2 separate regions of the Homo sapiens genome follow, and region 2 is linked to region 1. The links are contacts of gene promoters, found by promoter capture Hi-C in human tissues and cell types (Jung and others, 2019). All regions are on one chromosome and are shown on one strand. The core of a region is centred on a gene start or on the middle of the fragment in contact, and the rest is flanking DNA. Distances in the headings are between cores, read along the strand shown.

Evidence for each region. Contacts are between HindIII fragments. The study calls those that stand out against the background at their distance.
Region 2: a contact is called between the fragment with the promoter of MORC3 here and the fragment with the promoter of RIPPLY3 in region 1, in 1 of the 25 tissues and cell types used here (dorsolateral prefrontal cortex).

Annotation. Positions count from the first base shown.
Region 1 is chr21:37,004,897-37,009,571 of GRCh38, forward strand. RIPPLY3 (ripply transcriptional repressor 3) reads left to right here and starts at 1,806. Exons shown (of 4, transcript NM_018962.3): 1 at 1,806-1,980; 2 at 3,261-3,327. The coding sequence starts at 1,877. RefSeq lists an enhancer at 1,147-1,647 and a silencer at 1,871-1,980. The HindIII fragment of the contact is 12,344 bases long and covers 1-3,523 here.
Region 2 is chr21:36,317,798-36,322,472 of GRCh38, forward strand. It overlaps MORC3 (MORC family CW-type zinc finger 3), which reads left to right and starts at 2,400. Exons shown (of 17, transcript NM_015358.3): 1 at 2,400-2,506. The coding sequence starts at 2,468. RefSeq lists a silencer at 2,524-2,983. The HindIII fragment of the contact is 28,282 bases long and covers 1-4,675 here.

The sequences.
Region 1 (4,675 bases), core at 556-3,055:
CACTTTAATGTCTGAAGTTCTTCGATTTTTTTTTTTTTTTTTTTTTTGAGACAGAGTCTGGCTCTTGTTGCCCAGGCTAGAGTGCACTGGCGCGATCTCGGCTCACTGCAACTTCTGCCTCCCGAGTTCAAGCGATTCTCCTGCCTCAGCCTCCCAAGTAGCTGGGATTACAGGCACCCGCCACCACACCCGGCTATTTTTTTGTATTTTTCTTAGTGGATACGGGGTTTCATCATGTTGGCCAGGCTGGTCTCAAACTCCCGACCTCAAGTGATCCACCCGCCTGGGCCTCCCAAAGTGCTGGGATTACAGGCATGAACCACCGCGCCTTGCGGAAGTTCTTCGATTTTTTTTTTTTTTTTTGGAAAGGGAATCTCTCTCTGTCTCCCACGCTGGAGTGCAGTGGCACACTCTCGGCTCACTGCAACCTCCGCCTCCCAGATTCAAGCCATTCTCCTGCCTCAGCCTCCCAAGTAGCTGGGATTACAGGAGCCTGCCACCACGCCCGGCTAATTTTTTTATTTTTAGTAGAGACGGGTTTCACCATATTGGCCAGACTGATCTCGAACTCCTGACTTCAAGTGATCCATCCACCTGCCTCGGTCTCCCAAAGTGCTGGGATTACAGGTGAGAACCACCGCGCCTGGCCTAGTTCTTCGATTTTTTAACATCCATCACAGTAACTTAAATTATATAAAGTAACTACCCCTGAGGAGCCCGGGGTAGTTGAAGGCCCTCCAGCGCCTTCGGTGTTCTGTCGCAGTGCTCTACGTGTGAAACCGCTTTCTCCCACCCTGGCCGTGCGCTGGTGATGGTGGCAGCGGCGCTCCAGCGACGCCCGGGGAAGTGTCCCCAGGGTCGGGCAAGGTCGCTTCTGCTGGTCGGGAGGCCCTTTCTAAGCCTGGCTGGGGCTAACCGAAGGAGAAGCCCGCCGCTCCAGGCTTTATTAAAAATTCGCATTCTTTCCAAGGCCGCCATCGGTGGGAAGGGTGCGCTCGTAGCACCCCTCTTGCTCGGTTCCATTCCTGGCCTTCTGTCTCCTGGAAGGGTCGCCGCGCCCCACCCCACCCGCTTCGCCACGGGTTCGAGCCCTGGCGTCGGGGCGTCCGGGAGCCCACTGTCCAGCACCGAAGGCAAGGCCGGTGCACGCGGACCCGAGGATTCGGTAGATGTCCCCGAAGACCCGCTGCCGCTCTAAGGCGGTGGAAGCGAGATTCTCCGGAAACCCAGGGAATCCGATGCTCGCACAGGACCAAAGCCCGAGGCCGCGGGGACCACAGAGGGACGGAGAAGCCGGGACTCCTCACATCCCACATCCGGCAGGGGAAGCCCAGCAGGTGAGCGCAGGTCCCCCCAGTCCCCGAGGGAGTGCGCCCGACGGAAACGCCCCTAGCCCGCGGGCCTCGCTTTCCTCTCCCGGGTTCCTGGGTCACTTCCCGCTGTCTCCAGCCCGAGCTCGTGGCCCCAATCCCTGGTACCTCCATCCTCTGGTCACCCCTTCTCTGGTGCCCCCTCCCCGACTTTTCTTTGTCCCGTCCCCACCCTTGCCCGGGCCTGCCGGACCCCCCTCCTTGACACCCGGCGCCACCTCCTTGAGCTTTTCTCGTCTCCTCCCCATCCCCGGCTCCCTGGTCCCCTCCCGGAACTTCTCTGGTCCCCTCCGCTCCTCCGACCCGGGCTTTTCCTTCGTACCCTGCGGCCCCCTCCGCACCCCTCACGGAGCTCCTCGGGTCCTGCCCCCTCCCAGCGCTTGCCCGCGCCGCCCCGCCCCCGTTTTTAAACCTGGCGCGCGGGTAGGTGAGCGCGTTAGCCCGAGTGGATCTAGGCGCGCTCGTAGGCCGGCGCCGCAGCAAGGGGCGCGGGCTCCGCCGGCACCATGGAGCCCGAAGCGGCGGCCGGAGCCCGGAAGGCGCGGGGGCGCGGCTGTCACTGCCCCGGGGACGCTCCCTGGAGGCCTCCGCCACCGCGCGGGCCGGAGAGGTGAGGGTGGCCCCGCGCCCCGGTGGACGCGCTGAGAGGCGTGCGCGGTGGCGGTGCGGGGAGCGCAGCGAGCGGGAGGCTGGGGCGCTGCTGAACCCCCGATCCCCAGCGGAGCTCCGGAGCTCGACGGCGACGCCAAGCAAGCTCCTGAGCCGGCAGCCGGGTTCCCGGGAGGGGCGCTCAGTTCTCCGGTTCCAACGCACAGCTCTGAAGTGCGGAGGCCCAGGATGTAGCTGGCCAGGAAAGGGGCCGACGCTTCCGTGTAGAGGAGATCTCAGTTAGCCAGCCGGGGACACTGCAGTCTCGGGCTCCTAAGCCAGCCTTGCAAAGGCAATCTCTCACCTTGCTACTTTCTCGGTAGCCGTTTCTGTTGTCCCTGGATTGGGGGCTCGGCGTTCGCTGTCCCTGGGCACCAACCCTTTTAAAGACAGTAACGTTGTAGGAAATCAAATTAGCCAGGGAGGTAGGGAAGGGACCGGGTAGGCCGGATGGGCCAGGTAGCCAGGCAGGAGAAAGATTCCCTCTTTTTTTTTTTTTTTTTTTTTTTTTTGAGACAGGGTCTCACTGTGTCGCCCAGGCTGGAGTGCAATGGCGTGATCTCGGCTCACGGGAACCTCCGCCTCCCGGGTTCAAGCGATTTTCCTGCCTCAGCCTCCTGAGTAGCAGGGATTACACGCGCCTGCCACCACGCCCGGCTAATTTTTGTATTTTTAGTAGAGACTGGGTTTCGCCATGTTGGCCAGGCTGGTCTCGAACTCCTGACCTCGAGTGATCCAGTAACCTCAGCCTCCCAAAGTGCTGGGATTACAGGTGTGAGCCACCGCGCCCAGCCCCCTTTTTTTGTTTGTTTGTTTTTCATCCTACAACTCTGTAAAATCATCTCTGTAGAATCAATCTCCTTCCGTGACCAAGGTGGTGTGATTGAAATTAACCGGGGACAAAGTAGACAGCTATAGTTGGGGAACCCCGAATTGAACAATTCAGCCAGGATTTGCAGGGAGAGAAATCTCTCAACTAATGGGTTCCCTGATAATTGTGTGAGATTCGGGACCTCCCTTCTCAAAGCTTAACTGGAGACAGAGAACTGGGGACGTAGCAGGAGAGAAAAAACACAAATGACAGTAATTTATCCACAGCCCTGAGAACTCCAGGGAAAGTTCCTGGGGGGTCCGGTGCCTCTTTTTCAGGCAGACACTGGAACTAAGAATAGCTCTCATGGCATAGTTTGAAGGCAGCAGAAGTGCCCAGGGTTCACTCTCTCCTGGCGCTTGCCGTTCCAGCCCCGCGCCGTGGCGACCTTGGATCCAGACACCTGGAGATGCTGAGCTGACCAGAACTGGAAGGCCGGTAAGGTTCAGTGCGGGCGTTGTAGGTAACCCTTCCAGCCAGAAAGTGGCATCGTCTTTTAAAATACAGGGACCGTGAATGGCCTTCTGCGCAGGGCCGTCCCTTGGGCGTCTAACCCAGGAGCGCCTCGGGGTCTGGGAGTTGGAACCTGAATGAGTAAGGTGTTAATCAGACCTGACTCGCATTATAGATTGGGCTCCTGGTGGCTTCTCCTTCCTAAAAAAGCATACCCACTATAAAAGCATAATCGTAGGCTGGGCGCGGTGGCTCGGGCCTGTAATCTCAGCACTTTGGGAGGCCGAGACGGGTGGATCACCTGAAGTCAGGAGTTCGTGACCAGCCTGGCCAAGATGGCGAAACCCCGTCTCTACTAAAAATATAAAAATTAGCTGGGCATGGTGGCAGGCGCCTGTAATCCCAGCTACTTAGGAGGCCGAGGCAGGAGAATCGCTTGAACCCGGGAGGCGGAGGTTGCAGGGAGCCGAGATCATGCCACTGCACTCCAGTGTGGGCGACAGAGCAAGACTCATCTCAAAAAAAAAAAAAAAAAAAAAAAACCGTAGTCGTTTCATGGGAATTATAAGGAATGTCCTCCCTGTTGCGGTTTCTTCTGCAAAGCAACAGGTCGGGAGGGGAGGGGAGAGGCTGCCACTATCGCTTGCCTTGGAGAAAAGCTTAGAGCACCATTAGCGTTGGGCCGGTGCCACAGAGCAAATAGGACTGAGCCCCATCTGAGGTGCCCAGAGTTGCCGTTAAAAGCCCCCACCCCGCGTCTGGCCCTTTCTGAAGCACTTTCAGCCCCGTCAAGCACTCCTGGGGTATCTCATGTTGTCTGAGCAAATACACTCAAGCAGAGGGCTTTGTGGGCAAGATTAATGACCTCCACCATTCTTTTGTTACTCTGCATTGGTAACTCAGTTGCTTTATACTTACTGATGTAATGACTTGCTTTCATAGAATTTACCTTTCCTTTGTTACATTTTAAAATATAAATTGATGACTTTTACTTAATTTTTTTTTTTTTGATGACTCTTAAAACACTGAAGAATTAGGCTGGGAAAGACCATGTATTGAATTTACGTAACACGTGTTATATGGACTAACGTGCAGTTATTTGTAATATGGTAAGAAAACTTGATTGTGGGAAAACAGACCTTCACCGTATTTTGATATTTACACGACTTTATTAAATTAATCTGAATATTGGGAATTTTAATTTACTTCAAAGAAGGAAGCAGATAAAAGATAAATCAATTAACAAGAGATGATTTTTAGTCCCCGATTATTTATACATATATCTAAATAATGTAAAATCCCTTCTTTTGCATTCAAACTTAGTTCTTAAACA
Region 2 (4,675 bases), core at 1,150-3,649, 690 kb before region 1:
TCTGCTGTTGTTTTTCTGGAATTGCAGAGTTGTGTCTCCCTCGAATGCTGTCCCTCTGAATTCTTTGGAAATTCCTCTCTATCCTGGTTACTTACTTCTTTGATCGGGCATGGTGGCTCACGACTATAATTCCAGCACTTCGGGAGGCCAAAGAAGGTGGAGCACTTGAGCCCAGGAGTTCAAGGCCAGCATGGGCAACACAGCAAGACCCCTTTCTCTATAAAAAATATTTTAAAAATCAGCTGAGTGTGGTGGCACACACCCGTTGTCCCAACTACTTGGGAGACTAAGGCGGGAGGATTGCTTGAACCCAAGAGTTCAAGGTTGCAGTGAGCTATGATTGTGCCACTGTACTCCAGCCTGGGCAACAGAGTCTCTAGAAAAAGAAAAAAATCCAGGCCAGGCGCGGTGGCTCACGCCTGTAATCCCAGCACTTTGGGAGGCAGAGGCGGGCGGATCACGAGGTCAGGAGATCGAGACCACGGTGAAACCCCGTCTCTACTAAAAATACAAAAAATTAGCTGGGCGCAGTGGCGGGCGCCTGTAGTCCCAGCTACTCGGGAGGCTGAGGCAGGAGAATGGCGTGAACCCGGAAGGCGGAGCTTGCAGTGAGCCGAGATCATTCCACTGCACTCCAGCCTGGGCGACAGAGCGAGACTCGGTCTCCAAAAAAAAAAAAAGAAAAAAAAATCCATTCTCTTTTGTTTCTTTTTCCTTTTTGAGACGAGAGTCTCGCTCTGTTGCCCAGACTGAGTGCAGTGGTGAGAACATGGCTCATTACAGCCTCAGTCTCCCAGGGTCAAGTAGTCCTCCCCACCTCAGCCTCCCAAGTAGCTGGAACCACAGGCGTGCGCCCCCAAGCACAATTAATTTTTTTTTTTTTTTGAGATGGAGTTTCGCTCTTGTTGTCCCGGCTGGAGTGCAGTGGTGTGATCTTGGCTCACCGCAACCTCCACCTCCTGGGTTCAAGTGATTCTCCTGCCTCAGCCTCTCCAGTAGCTGGGATTACGGGCATGTGCCACCACACCCGGCTAATTTTGTATTTTTAGTAGAGATGGGGTTTCGCCATGTTGGTCAGGCTGGTCTCAAACACCCGACCTCAAGTGATCTGCCCGCCTTAGCCTCCCAAGGTGCTGGGATTACAGGTGTGAGCCACCACGCCCTGCCAGCTAATTCAATTTTTTTTTTGTAAAGATGAGGTCTCCTCGTGTTGCCCAGGCTCGTCTCGAACTCCTGGGTTCAAGAGACCCTCGCAATGTAGCCTCTCAAAGTGCTGAGATTACAGACATGAGCCACTGCACCCAGCCAATTTCTCTTTCTAAAAATAATTAATTTTTTTGAGACAGTCTCACTCTGTCGCCCAGGCTGGAGTACAGTGGCGCGATCTGGGCTCACTGCAACCTCCTTGTCCTGGGTTCACCCACTTCTCCTGCCTCAGCCCCCCGAGTAGCTGGGATTACAGGCGCCCACTAATATGCCCAGCTAATTTTTGTATTTTTAGTAGAGATGGGGTTTCACCATGTTGGCCAGGCTGGTCTTGAACCCCTATCAAGTGAACCCCCAACCTCGACCTCCCAATGTGTTGGGATTATAGGCATGAGCCACTGCACCGGCCTTATGCCTTTAGGACTCTTATTTATTTATTTTGAGACGGAGTTTCACTCTTGTTGCCCAGGGTGGAGTGCAATGGCGCAATCTCGGCTCATTGCAACCTCCGCCTCCTGGGTTCAAGCATTCTCCTGCTTCAGCCTTCCGAGTAGCTGGGATTACAGGCATGTACCACCACGCCCGGCTAATTTTGTATTTTTAGTAGAGATGGGATTTCTCCATGTTGGTCAGGCTGGTCTCGAACTCCCGAAGTCAGGTGATCCGCCCGCCCACCTCGGCCTCCCAAAGTGCTGGGATTACAAGCGTGAGCTACCGCGCCCGGCCCCAGAACTCTTTTTTTTTTTTTTAAATCATGAGTTAGATTGATAGTTTTCAGGGCAAATCCAAACAGTCTACATTAATTTCCGTCTTTATTTCGTTAAGGTTTCACATGGACACTGGTGGATATGGAATGGCTTTTTTCTGCGCAATTCACATCCGACCAGGTCAAGTGACTGGAGTTCACCGGTCTCGGGTATACCGCATCTCGCGCCAGGCTTCAAACTCTAGATCCCCGAGTCTCGAGCTCCAGCTGGGTGTCGAGACGGGTACGGGCCGGCCGCGCCTCGCGCATGCGCCCTAGGCCCGCAGGGCCCCGCGCTGGAAGCTCAGCTCCCACTGTACCCTGCTTTAACCAGTCAGGCAATTCATCTTCCCCAAGCTCCCAATTCGGCATTGCCTGGAGGCGGAAGTGGGTGGGAGGGGCCAGACGTGCGCCCCTCCCCGGAAGTGGGCGGTACCCATAGGGCTCCACAGTCGTTCCGCCACCTCCCAGTCGGGTTGCGGCGGAGGCCGTTCCTGGCTTTGTAGCTCGCTCAAGATGGCGGCGCAGCCACCCCGCGGGATACGCCTCAGCGCGGTGAGCAGCCGCGAGGGGTGGAGCGGGCCGTGTCCCAGGAGGGCGGGCGGGCAAGCGAAGGGGGGCCGGCAGTGGGCGGTGGCGGCTTGTGGGGCCGACGCGGCGGCGGGGGCTGCGGCGGGGCCCGGGGAGGGGGCGGCCATCTCGCTCCCGTCGGCGGAACAGCTCGGCTGCGGGCCGGGCTGCGTTCCGTCGCCTCTGCATTGTGTTTCTGTTTTGCTTCGGGGCGGGCCAGGGTCGCGGCTCCTCCTCCCAGCTCCCTCCTAGTCTCCCAGCAGCTGTCGTCCGCGGGCGAGGCCTCGGCGGGAGATCGGTCTGCTCTCGGGGCCGCGGGGCCCCTGACCCTCTTCTGTCCGCTGGGCGTCGTGGTGGGAGGGAGCGGGTTCCGCGTCCAGAAACGCCGGCGGCCTCGACGTCCCGGGGGCGGGGGGACGGGGCTGCGGGCCTGCCTGCGGGCGAGTGGAGTCAGGATGAGTGTGCCTGATGCCTGTCAGTGCCTGCAGCTTCCTTGGCAGTGGAAGCCTTGGGGCCCAGACCCTAGATCGCTGAGCTCGAGCTCTCCTCTTTATCCCGCGTTGCGTCTGTTTTGGGGCGTTTCGAGTTCTTGGAAACCCTGTGAACATTTCTTGTATCTTAAATCGTAGGGAGCGGTCACACAAGATAACTTGAAATCTCACGTCCAGGAAATGTGGGCGTGGCTTCCCCACCTGATTATCCTAAAAAACTTTTCTACCTTGTGAGCGCAGTTGATGTTATGCTGAAATGTTCCTCTTTTCTGGAGGTTGTTGACTTTTGCCAAAGAATGACTGCCCTAGTGCCACTAATTTTAACATTCGAATGGGTAGTGACTCCTTGGGGTACAAACACGTAGTGAATAATTGGTGCATTGCTCTGGGACTTTCATTCGTTTAGGCAGATTCTAACACCTGGTTTTGACGGACTTTAAATTTTTTCTAGTCCGATATTTGTGAAATGATATTTGCTTTTACTTGCGTTTCCTTGACTGTTTGTGTTGTTGAGCTCTTCGCATGTATTAGTCTTTGTGGTTTTTTGTTTTGTTTTTTTGAATTGCCTATTCATATCCTTTGACCATTTTCTGTTTTTCTTTTGGGAGGATCTTTATTGATTTGTAAGAGTTCTTTACGTATTCTGGATAAAGGTCCATCCTTTCGTTATGTAACTAGCTTATTGAGTGAGCTAGGCTTTAGTAGTTTGAAAATAGAGGACAATTTTATTCTTTTTTTCTTTTTTTTTTTTTTAACCACTGAGTGTAAACATTAATTATTCCCCACTTGTGTGAATCTGGGTTGACTAACGCTTTCCCATTAGCTTAAGGTATTGTAAAGTCTGGCCTTACCTAGTTTAAAATCTCTATTCTCTCTCCCTCCCTTTTCCCCCTCTCTTTCCCCTATCTCCTTTCCCCACTTCTCTCTCCTTCCTCTCTCGAGGTTGAGTCTTGTTCAGGCCCAGAAACCTGTAGTGGAGAAACGGAGTGAGTTGATTTCCTGTTTCTGTCCTTTGATTCTCTTCTCCCTTCCCGCCCCCAGGCCCTTGTAGACTCTGGCTCTTCAAGATTGAGGGGAGAAAGGAAGCAGAGATAATGGTCAGTGTTTAGAGACCAGCATTGTTAGCGGGCACTCTGGGTGTAGCTGCTGTCCATGTGCTGGGTCTTTGTTTTGTGGGTAATATGGGCTGTTGGGAACCTGACTGACAGAAATCTCCCATCTGCAGCCTCTTTGCTTTTGCTTTAGGTCAGGAGTTGGCAAACTACATACAGCTCATGGGCCAAATCCAGCCCAGCACCTGTTTTTGTGTGGCCTGAAGGCTAAGAGTGATTTATACATTTGTAAATGGTTGAGAAAAAAAGAAGAATGTTTAGTGACATAAAAATTATGCGAAATACAAATTTCAGTTTCCATAAAATTTTATTGGAATATAGCCAGAAACATTATTTGCTTATAGTTTTCAAATGCATGCGTTAAGAGATAAAAATTAATGAGCTTATGTATTTGTCAAAAGTCCTACATTTTAAGGCACAAAGGGTGAACCCTTAGTGTATACACTTTTTTATTTTATTTTATTTTTTTGAGGTAGAGTTTCACTCAGTCTCCAGGCTGGAGTGCAGTGGCACGATCTCGGCTCACTGCAGCCTCCACCTCCCGGATTCAA